3 separate regions of the Homo sapiens genome follow, and all the other regions are linked to region 2. The links are contacts of gene promoters, found by promoter capture Hi-C in blood cells and fetal thymus (Javierre and others, 2016). All regions are on one chromosome and are shown on one strand. Each heading gives the region's core, a stretch centred on a gene start or on the middle of the fragment in contact. The rest is flanking DNA. Distances are from core to core; before and after follow the strand shown. Region 1 has its middle 17 kb from the start of LRRC37A3. Region 2 holds the start of RGS9 (regulator of G protein signaling 9). Region 3 overlaps LOC107985000 (a long non-coding RNA gene).

What was found. The method cuts DNA at HindIII sites, captures the fragments that hold promoters and counts their contacts. A CHiCAGO score of 5 or more calls a contact.
Region 1: a fragment that was not itself captured here is called in contact with the fragment with the promoter of RGS9 in region 2 in 2 of 17 cell types (naive B cells and total B cells); the score reaches 7.8 in naive B cells.
Region 3: a contact is called between a fragment that was not itself captured here and the fragment with the promoter of RGS9 in region 2, in 4 of 17 cell types (naive B cells, total B cells, M0 macrophages and 1 more). The highest score is 7.6, in naive B cells.

Annotation. Positions count from the first base shown.
Region 1 is chr17:64,934,094-64,938,088 of GRCh38, reverse strand. No RefSeq gene overlaps it. Among named protein-coding and RNA genes, the nearest start is that of LRRC37A3, 17 kb to the right of the region's middle. The HindIII fragment of the contact is 2,859 bases long and covers 1-2,699 here.
Region 2 is chr17:65,134,802-65,138,771 of GRCh38, reverse strand. It overlaps RGS9 (regulator of G protein signaling 9), which reads right to left and starts at 1,402. Exons shown (of 19, transcript NM_003835.4): 1 at 1,175-1,402. The coding sequence starts at 1,231. RefSeq lists a silencer at 1,213-1,712. The HindIII fragment of the contact is 12,932 bases long and covers 1-3,970 here.
Region 3 is chr17:64,955,951-64,959,636 of GRCh38, reverse strand. It overlaps LOC107985000 (a long non-coding RNA gene), which reads left to right. Exons shown (of 3, transcript XR_001752973.3): 1 at 1-2,445; 2 at 2,681-2,683. It also overlaps the pseudogene SLC16A6P1. Among named protein-coding and RNA genes, the nearest start is that of LRRC37A3, 38 kb to the right of the region's middle. The HindIII fragment of the contact is 1,223 bases long and covers 1,533-2,755 here.

The DNA.
Region 1 (3,995 bases), core at 21-2,520, 200 kb after region 2:
TCCTCTCCATCTTGAGTCCCATCTCTAACTTGTTTTTTGTGGTCCTGGCTTTTCAGTGAATTTGCCAGTTCACCACGTGTGTTTCTGTTGTGATCTGCCTCAAACCTTCTAGGGACTGAGGTCAGGGTAAGAGTAGTTTAAAAACAAGATAAGACGTGGACAGTGAAGGGTGTGGCATTGGGAGTACCCATCCTGGGTCTTCTCTCCCTTCCTGTGGGGGTAACCTGGTAGTCTTGCCCACTGCCCCGGTTTATTCACTGGGGATGCAGTCCAGACAGAAATGGGGCTTTGGCTCAGGGACAGGGAAGGGCACCTGGGGAGAAAGAGGTTTCCCAACCAGGCCTGTCACAGTAAGCAGCCAAGGACACGGAGCCTCCTGTCTCTCTCAGGCTGGGACGAGGGCTGCCATTCTAGGCATGAGAATTTCCTCTTCCAGAGGCCCTACTCCTCACCACCCTCCAGGGCAAGGATTATTATTAACTCAGCTCCTGGAGGGGGAACTGCAGAATCTGTGATGCTAGAAACACAGGACAGGTCCCCTGGGGCGGGGATGCAGCTTTGGCCTTGAGCCCTGAGAATGGTAGCCCCAATTCTTCCCAGGTCCTCCTACTTGGGGCTTGCCTACAGTAAGGGTCCCAGAGCACTGCCAGCAACTGCACCAATATCACCTCTCTGGCTCTGGACTCTTACCTCTATTAATACAGCCAAAAGCTGCACTCAGTGTTGGCTCATAGGGAATTAAGGGTCAAAAACCCCCAGGTCATTTCCAGGTCACTAGTTTCAGAGGGCTGGCAGGCATCACTAAGCCCCTTCCCTCCTTCTCCCCACCCCCACCACTCACCTCCAGCACGTTCTTCTTACTGGATTTGTTTTAGGGGCCCAGCAGAGAGTGGTGCTCTTCAGCTCCACTGTGTAGTCGGGGGTAGAAAACTTGGAAGGCTGCCTCTGTGGGAGAGGGAGGAAGGTCACAGGGAGCCCTCGGCTCAGATGTGTCTGCTGTGGCACTCTGACTCCAGGAATAGGATGGGCATGGCCAGGAAACAACTCTGGGGAAAGAGCTCCAAGGGTTCCTGAACCCAGAGACCCTGATCTGTGAGGCCCAGAGGGAGGGGGCGTTAACCAAAGCAGTCCCTCCCTCATCTCAGCATGGTTGGGGAGGGGGCAGCGACCCTTGCCCTTAGAGGGAGAGTGGGTTTGGGAGTCAGATAAACTGGGTTCAGAGCTTGACTGTACCATTTACAAGCTGGGTGACCCTAGCCAAATCCCCTCATCTCCCTGAGCCTCAGTTTCCCCATCTGTAAAATGAAGATAGCCCCTCAGGTAAGTGAGGAGGTCATGTGGCACCTGGCCGGGCAGTGCTCATTGAACAGCGATTCCTTCCCATCCCTAATGCCTGGTGGTGCCCCCAGATCTGCAGGCAGGCCCTGAAGTTTCTGATGCAGATCTGGGCCCAGCCCCTCATCAACCTGCAGATGGCAAACGCATCTCTGTACGAGCATGTGGAGCGGATGCACCTCATCGGGAGGAGCTGGGAGCAGCTAAAGCTCCTGGGGGATTACCTGGGCCCGTGCTGGAGCGGTGCCCTGAAGGAGCTCAGGAGGAGGTGAGCACCCTTTACGTGCATGCACACGAACACACACACACACACACACGAACACACACACATACACATGAACACACACGAACACACACACATGAATACACACATACACATGCGCACACACACCCACACACATAAATGTACACACAAATGCACAGACTTGCACACACATGCACATGCACACAAATGTACACACATGCAGGCAGTCGTGCACACACACACACACACGGGGGCAGTGCCCAGGGCAAGGCGTCCACTTGGAGGAAACATGGGCAGAGATCTTCCCATTGGGCCTGGGAAATGATCACATCTTTTGGGGGTGATTTTGGGTTTTTTTTCACGTATCTATTTGTTCACTCAAAAACATGGACTGAGAACATACTAAGCACTGCACACCTGGCAAGGCATGTGGGCTCCAACACTGAGCAGGGCAGAGCCAGGGCCGACCCGCTGGAAGCCTCTGGCCTGGCAGGGAAGACAAGTGGGAAAGCCAGCAACTCCATCCGGGGGTGAGGGTGAGAGGGAGATAGGTTGGAAAGCCAGCAACTCCATCCGGGGGTGAGGGTGAGAGGGGAGATAGGTGGGAATGCCAGCAACTCCATCCGGGGGTGAGGGTGAGAGGGGAGATAGGTGGGAATGCCAGCAACTCCATCCGGGGGTGAGGGTGAGAGGGAGACAGGTGGGAAAACCAGCAACTCCATCCGGGGGTGAGGGTGAGAGGCAGGACGTCCTGGAAGCACAGAGGCTTACATCCAGCCCAGATCAGAGGAGGACAAGGCAGGAAGGACTTCCTGGAGGAAGTGACTTCTAAGGTGAGACCTGAAAAATGACGAATTAGAAAGGGGAAGCAAAGGGGAAAAGGGCGTTCCAGACAGAAGGAATAGCACGCACAGGCCATGAACTGTCGGTGGAAAGCACAGGGAGAACTTTGGCTACAGTGAGGAGGGAAGCGGGGAGTGTGGCGAGAGGCAGGCGAGGTCCAGATATTCCCACCTCTTCCCTGTCCAGCCAGTTGTCTGGCCCATGCCAGCCTCCCTCCTGAAATTCTCCAAAGAAGAGGTGATCAGGGCGGGGCCCTCAGGATGCCCTTTAGGAAGCTTCTCTTACCCAGGGCCTGGGGCCTTTGGTGCTCAGGAATGGGATGTGATGCTGGGCTTCAGCAGGGACTTAGGCCTCTCCATGTCTGTCATAAACGCTTCCTAGTCCTCAGGTCACAGCCCAGGCTACAGTCTTCCCAGGGCTGTGCTCTCCTGGCACCCTCAGGAGGGCAGACCTCAGGCGGAGAAGCCTGCCGGTGCCTTCTCCCCAGAATGGGCTTCGAGTCCACCTCTGCTGGGTTTCTAGGGTCAGGAACCAGTTCACAAGCCCCTCCAGGTTCCCCCATCTGGCCTTCCCTCCCCACAGGGCTGGCCTAGACAGTGCCTCTCTGAAGACTGCCTCCTCCATCCTGGCTGCAGTGCTCCCAGAGCCGGGCTTCCTGGGGGCCAGGGTGTGCCCCAGGCAGGTCCCCAGGGGCTCTCAAGGGGTGCTGCGGGGGCTCTCCCCTAGGCAAAGAGGAGAATCTGGCCCCACAGCTGCCAGCTGAGCCTTGGTCTCCTCTGCAGGGCCTGGAAGAACAGAAAGCCCTCCGGGGACCACCATGTGGGACCCTAGACCCTAGAAGGCTTCGCCCCAGGAGGCTCGCCCATCCCAAGCATCCGTGGGTGACTGGGTCTCCACCTTTTGGCCATGCTGACTCACTCCCTACCTCTGAGAGTCCATGACCCAGAGCTCCAGAGAGACTATCCTCCTGCCCACCTAACCAGGTGGCGAAATCTCTGGGGTCAGGTGGGGCCTTATCACCCTCCTTGGTCAAGGAGCCAGGTATCTGCACAGGCCTACAGACCTGTGTAGACCAGGTGCCTGTGGTATGGGTTGTGGGCCCCAGCCCCATTCACCCGTCCCCGCCCTGCTGAGAGTTTGTTCATGGGCTTTACAGACCTGTCTCTGTGGGCACCAGGGGCACCCCTGTCTCTCTCTCCCTGGCCCTCCTGCTCCATCCCTGGGCAGCAGCGCTGTACTCCTGCTATGCACTCAGCCTGCTTCCTGTGCCTGTGGAAGTCCCTTGGAAACAGCATGGGGCAGGGGAAAGAGTGTGGGAGGCCCTCACCCACTGTGAGTCAGGAAAGTTGCTTCACTTCTCCGGGTCCAGCTTTCCCGTCTGTAAAATGGGCCAGTGATTCCTCTGTTCCTGTGGCCTCCTGAGCAGTGGTGAGGGCTGCATGAGGGACCCAGAGTCTGGGCCACAGATGGCCCTGGATCAGCATCGTGTGTGCCCTGAGGGCATCTGATCCAGCCTTGGCAGGGGCCAGAGGAGCTCCCAGAGGAGATGGCATCTGAGCTGAGGGCATGCAGA
Region 2 (3,970 bases), core at 153-2,652:
GTCCTGCCTGGGAGGAGACAGTCCTAGGATAAATCCTGGAAGATGATGTGTGGCTTTGAGATAGCCGACTTAGGCAGTTTCTTCTGCTTTTAGTAACTGGTATCTGCAATACAGGCTCTCAGGGTTCTTTCTGAGTGAGACAACATTCAGCCTGTCTGCTTTACAGATGATACCCACACCTCTGCTACCCGGAAGATGAGCACGAGCATCTTGAAACAGGTGGACCAAATGCGACCGTCTCGGGGTCCCCAGGACTGTCCAGGTTTTAGCATTGAAAGTCCTGGGCAAATCAGGACAGCGGTCACTGACTATACAAATTTGCTGAGCTCCAGGGGCTCAGGGAGAGCTCAGCTTGTCACAAAACATTCAACTAATTCTACTCAACAAGATAAGCCTAAGAAGATGGACACTACGCTGTGAAAAGTGGCTACGGGTGGGAGGAAGGACAAAGATGTGACCCGGGACCTAATCCTCTGTAGATCTCATCGGACAGTGATTATACCAGAAGCTCAGAACTAAATGAACCACTTTGTCCCCAAACACATCACCCCACAGGTGCATTCCACCTCCCACATGTCCATCCTGTGTGCACACCCTGTGCCCGGTCACTTTGTCTGGGAAAGCATTCGCAAGGGAAGCGAAAAGGTTGGGACTTCTGCCGCCAGCGCAGACAGCAGGAGATGCACAGATAGACACACTCAAATGAGGGCTCTCAGGGCATTGTAAATGGGGTGGCCCTTTATCCTACAAATCACCCCGTTTTCATGGTCTATGTGTACACACACACACACTTTAAAATAGTGCAGTTTGGGATCAGAAAAAAAAGGCAAAAATGGCAATGTCACATCTGGTCGTCTTACAACAATATCAGCAGGCTGTCTCAAATCTGCCACAGCCTGAACTGAACCTGCCTCTCCCGAGTAACAGGTTGTTTTCACCTCCCGCAGACCATCAGCGCTGGCTTCAGATTCTCCACTACAGGCAGGGCACACGAAAACCTAATTATTATAGCCATCAATATCGACACACACAGCAAAGAAGTCACTTAATAAAATCGAGCAGCACAAATCGACCCAAAGGGGTGCTCTCCACTCCTGCCCCTCTTGTCCTCGGACGCTTCGCAGATGCGGTCCCCCGCCCTCCTCCCAGGGTCCAGGTGAGGGGCCAGGGTTACCTTTTGGAGAAATGCCATCCTCGGCCTGTACTGCTGGCCTTGGTGTCGGATTGTCATCCTGGCCCCTGGATGGATTCACAGCCAGAGCACCAGTGGGAGACAAGAGGAGAAGCCCCCCAAGTTCGAAAGGCAGCCTGGCTCGCCCCAGCCCTGGGCGTCGACGGGGAGGCGGCTGGGCGGGGAGGGCGCGGGCCGGGCCCCCCTGACTCTCACTAGGCGCCGCTGACTTGGAAAGCAGCTGGAATCCGCGCCAGCCAATCCGCGAGCGGCGCCGCGGGCTCATTAGCATGCGCTGCGCGGGCGCCCACCTGCCGCCAGGGGGCGCTATCCGGCCCCCGCCGGGACCCCGCGGAGCAGCAGGTGAGACCCGCAGGGCAGGGCCCCGGGAGGAGAAGGAGGAGGAGGACCTGGCGGGAGGAGGAGGAGGACCTAGCGGGAGGAGGAGGAGGACCTGTCGAGAGCAGCGAGCCTTTTAACTTGGGGCGGAGTTATGCACAGAAGTGACACAAAGAGCCCTCACTAATACAGCGCGGTGGAAAATACGGACTTTCCCATCCCAGCTCTGCCACTAACCAGCCGGCAGCCTTGGGCAAGTTCCTTACAATCTCTAAGAATCAATGTCCTTCACTCAAAAGTAAAAATTGAAAAATGGGATCATAATATCGACCAGAAAAGGTTGCTATACCATTTTAATGAGGAGATGTGTAACACAGTGCTTGGCCCTCAATAAATGCTTAGAAAAAAAAATTAGAGGTGGCGATTTAATGACCCAATAGCAGAGGAATTGCTAAGATGTGGGTTTAAAAAGAGAGAGCAAAGAAGTGAAGAAGGAAGAGAGGAAGGTTGTAGTCCTCACCGGGCTAGCTGTCTGGATGAAGCGAATTATATTTTACTTCTCTGATTCTTAGTGTTTCGGTTAGTTGGTTGTTGGGTTTGTTGTTGTTTAACTTTTTTTTTGAGACAGGGTCTTGCTCTGTCACCCAGGCTGGAGTGCAGTGGCGTAATCATGGCTCATTGCAGCTACAACCTCCCAGGCTCAAACAATCCTCCCACCTCAGCCTCCCCAGTAGCTGGGGCTACAGGCACGTGCCACCACACCCCGCTAATTTTTACAAAAATTGTTTGTGGAGAGGGAGTTTCACAAACTCCTGGGCTCAATCGATCTACCCACCTCGGCCTCCCAAAGTGCTGGAATTACAGGAGTGAGCCACTGCAGCTGGCTGGTTTGCTTGTTTTAATAGACTTTATTTCTTAGAGCAGTTTTAGGTTCACAGCACAATTGAGCGGAAGGTATAGGGACACGTCATATATCCCCTCTCCCCACGCACGCACAGCGTCCCCCATGATCAACATCCTCCACTGGAGTGGCCCATTTGTTACAATTGATGAACCTACCTTGACAGCTCATTATGTTAGCGTTTTCATCTTGAGAAAAATGCAAGGATGAAGCCTCTAAGTTATTATCAAGAGCCTTTCTGCTTTGTTATATAAAGCACTTTCTCTTAAACATACTCGATGGTTATTGAGTGTAGCAGATAAAATGTTTAAGTTGGAAGAAAACAAGAAGGCCTTTACCTTAGGAAGGCACAGTCAACCAATGTCCCTTTAAAGCAGTGGTTCTTGGCTGGGTGTGATGGCTCACGCCTATAATTCCAGCACTTTGGGAGGCCCAAGCGGGTGAATCACTTGAAGTCAGGAGTTCAAGACCAGCCTGGCCAACATGGCAAAACCCTATCTCTATTAAAAATACAGAAATCAATCAGCATGGTGGAGCAACCTGTAATCCCAGCTACTCAGGAGGCTGAGGCACAAGAATCACTTGAACCCAGAGGCTGCAGTGAGCCAAGACTGAGCCACTGCATTCCAGCCTGGGTGACAGAGTGAGACTCTGTCTCAAAAAAAAAAAAAAGCAGTGGTTCTTATCCATTCTCTCGGGTGATATTTACCTGTAAGAATCTGATGAAAGCTATGGACACTCAGGAACACACACACATGCACATGTACACAACACTGACTGAAGTTTGCAAACAATTTCAAGAGGTTCATGCTTGGGCCTCTCTTGTGCCTTTTCAGGAATCCCTGATTCAGAGCCTCCAATTTAGAGGACGCTGGACCCTGCAGAGATCCATCCAAGCAGAAGACCAGAGATCCTGCCAAGCAAATTGAACCACTGAGAAGTATGCTCCTGGTGTGAGCTGAGATCCAAAGAAAATGCTGGAATATCTTGATTTTTTTTCTCATGAAGCATCTTTTGAGCCTGGTGTGAGTTTAAATCCAAAGAAAATGCTGGAATATCTTGATTTTTTTTCTCATGAAGCATCTTTTGAGCCTAGTGTTATACAGAGCACATGCTGGGATCTGACCAAGATGAGCTATGAAGTTCCTTCCAGCTTCAACATCCCTTGTCTCTAGAAACCCTAAGCATCAAGAAGATAAGTGGCTTTCCTAAAATGAAGGATGAGAAAAATTATTCAGGAGCAAAGAGAGGCAAAAATAAAAGGCACTTTGCTCATTAATAGAATAGGAGAGGCCTCAGTGCCTGCCACTCTCCTCCCCACCCCTTCTGTCAGGCCCTGCTCTCCAAGCAACTACATTTTGTGGGACCCATCTTTGCTCATTGGACCAGAGGCCAGTTCCCCACATGATAGGACCATGATGTGGATCTGAAAAACGGAGAGGAGCTTGTTAGATTATTACCTTCACAAATGCCAACTTGAGTCAGATAAAGTCAGGGCCACAGGAAGCTGAGACCAAATGCAAGCTGAAGTTATGAGGAAGGAGAAATGAAAGGTGAGC
Region 3 (3,686 bases), core at 895-3,394, 180 kb after region 2:
ATTCCATTGAAACATTGCCACATTCATTCATTTATATATTGTCTGTGGCTGCTTTTGACCCTCAATGGCAGAGTTGACTAGACAGAGGCCTCATGGCCTGCAAAGCTTTAAATATTTACTATCTGGACCTTTACAGAAAAAGTTTGCCAAACCCTGGCATGTAGAGTCTGTGCTGTTTACTTACAGGTTGCAACAGTTCTTGGAACGATTCTGTAACTGGTTGTAGTCTTTAACTATTTGCCGTTATGACTTTTGATAGGCTTACTCTGGCTACCATGATATCATTTCATTCATGTATTTTTCATTAATAATTAAATACCATCGCTGCTTTCATTCTTAATTCTTAGATGAAAACATGCTTCTTCATTTGATTATATTGTTTAATTTTTATTTCGCTCTCCTGTTATTCATTACTTAATATTTCCCTTGAATTATTTAGTCTTTTTCTAAGGTGCTGTAATTTGCATGAAAAACTCAACATAAAATAAAATTGTCCTGCTTTCAATGACCAGAAAAAATGATTTAAAAGTTCAGGCCACACACGATGGCTCACACCTGTAATCCGAGCACTTTGAGAGGCCGAGGCAGGTGGATCACCTGAGGTCAGGAGTTTGAGGCCAGCCTGGCCAACATGGTGAAACCCCATCTCTACTAAAAATACACAAAATTAGCCAGGCGTGGTGGCGGGCACCTGTAATCCCAGCTACTCGGGAGGCTCAGGCAGGAGAATCACTTGAACCTGGGAGGCTGCAGTGAGCTGAGATTGTGCCATTGCACTCCAGTCTGGGCAACAAGAGTGAAACTCCATCTCAAAAAAAAATACTAGTAAATATAAATAAATAAAAAGTTCAGTAGACACTTCTTGGGAAACTTTATGTGTCTCTAGTAGAGTTAAAAGGTTTTGCAGAAGATAAACGTTAAAAAATTATTTATTTGGAGTGAATCTTTGGTGAGTTTTTATAACTTTAATTGCATCAAATACTGAATGCTGTGAGAGTCAATAAAAAAATCTTATAACAGAAGAAAATCAGTATCTTTAAATAAAAAAGCCATAAATGTATTGCAAATCTAGAAGTACCAGAATGTCACTAATACAGAACAAATCAGCAATCTTGTTTTTATTTTCTTCCAAACATTTAAAACCTTGATTATTGACATACTGAAATTGGCATGCATTCTCTTTTCATGCAGGTAACAGAATAGACATGGAGCAGATCCCTCTGAAATCAGTTATAAATATTAAATTGTATTGAACATTCATAGTAAAAATACGTTGTAAAGTGCTGAAGTCATGTAAGTCTGCAAAACTGCCACAAGCTCAAAGTTCTTCTCAAGCAGTGGCAGAGATTTGCTATATCCACCTTGTTTTAGATTATGCCTGTTTTTGACAGACACTGTGTCATTTCCTCCCCCACCCTCCCCAAAGTTTTATAGATTGTCCTATTTCTATGGCTGGTAAGATGCTCTACAAAATGTAGCAGGTGGTGATGAACTATGCCACTTTCATTTCAGTGCAGAGAAATATTCAAGCTTGTGTGTACCTGTAACCAAACTAGGCTTGTTATGTTTTTCCCCCGAGTTGTCATAAATTAACATTAATGATGAGTAAAGATGGAGCAGCGAGCATTGACCGTCACCTGCAGGGTGAGATTGCAGTAAAATAGGTGAGTAAAAAGTCCACCTATTATCCTGACACTTGTCCTCTTTACAGAAAACTGTAACGTGAGCAATACTATACATGTAGTGTGACTCCAAAAATAAAAAATAAAACAAACAACAACAACAACAACAAAAAAACAATGACCAGTTACCCGATACCTCTGGCAACTTAGAACAATCAAGTTGTGAGTTATAGAAGATGTAAATTGCAACTTGTAACTCGCTATAACATAAATGTCTCTGTTACCCCCATGTGAAATACAGAAATGCTTCAACAATTAGATGGTTTTTTCTTTAAATCAGAAATGCTTTAACAGTTCAATGAAATATAATTCTGATCAAAGAAGTTCCTCAAGTATTCTTAGATGATAAAACAAATTATTTTTGAAAGCTAAGGTGATTTGCTATCCGTTATTTTTTCCCCTTTAAATAGCACATGTTGCCCTTAATCAAATGGAAGAATCATGACAACTTGGCCTTTTATGAAAGTATTTTTTACAAGATAAGACGTATTCTGTGAGGCATTTAAAGGACTGCAGAAAGGAGGTAAAAATGCTGCTTATGTCTCAGATTTTATTTCTTTTGATTAATCATCCTAGAATAACTTAATAATAAATAGCGGTTTAAATTAAAGACACTACAGTCACATATTTCTGTATAACTAAAAGCAACAGGAAACACATTTTTAAATGCCATTTTGTATATTCTGTACTGAAACACTTCTGGTAAGGACTGGCCATAAAAAGAAGTGGTAATCTTCACATTTATGAAGTTCAAGTTATATATGTACTTAAAATTTGCTTATTAGTAAAATGTTTGGTCTTAAACTATACTTCATTTCCAGCAAGCAGAAGCCATAATTTGTTAATGGGAACCTCAGTATTTTACAAAGGGTTTAACAAAAACCATTTATTCATATTTCTGAAAATTAGGAATTTTTTAAATGATTGAAGTCTTTTTTTTTTTTTTTGACTGGCCAATTTCATTTCAATGACCTGGGTTGGATGTTGTTTTATTCAAGATAGTAGTTTATTCTGACAAGACCATACGAAGAAAGAAAAGAAAGAAAGAAAATCATTTATCCCATGTGAAAGCTTTTAAAACCACTTTGCCAGTTCGTGTCACTATTTTAATATTGGAATGTGAACCAAAGAGTCTTTCTACATATCTTTTGTATTGCTACTGAATACAGCCAGATTTATATATGGAAGAGTGCTTGGTTGTTTTTTGTTTTGGCTTTAAAAACAAGCAAAAAGGAAAACTTAAAACAAAAGCGATGTTGGTAGTGCTCTTCACATACACATTCCCTTTAAAATGTAGTTTTGAAAGTGGAGTAGAGGGGTTAGCTCCTCTACCTCCTTGTGTCTCCGTTGGGCCCACCCCATCCCTCTCCAGCCAACACAGTGGCTGTTGTTGTAAGAAAGTGTGTCATACCGGCTCCATTTGCACGTGAACTCTGTGCTCATTTTTTGCAAGATCCATTTCCAGAAAGTCTTCAGGTATGTCCTGTAAAGTCTTCCCACGATGGCTCACTACCTTTGTTTCACCTGAGTGATGATGCTGGCACAGTCCCATCTTACACGGTCTCACCAGGGCGAGGCACACAGCAGCCAGGGCCATGCCAGCTGCGCAGGAGTAGAAGGCCCTGCTGTAGATCTTACTTTGGTCCACCAACAAACCTGGAAGAGAGCATGGCGTCCGTTAACAGCATCCTTCCTAGACATAAGCCCCTCACCCAGGCGACCATCCCATTCAGAAGCCTCTCAGTTTCATTGCCTTCCTTGTTTTCTTTTGTGTTTCTAAAGAAAAATGGGTGTTAAGGGCAGAAATCTTTACTAGACTGGAGAGGAGAAAGAGACAAACACCCAATATACTTGTTCTTCTTGGGCTAAGCCTGTCCTAGCAGAGGACCTAAAACCTGGGACATTTCGATGCATACTTCTTTGAAAAGGTAATATTCTTCGGTAGGAAGGAACTGTATTATTTTCACTTGAGTTCACTTTAGGTGTTTGTTTGTTTGTTTGTTT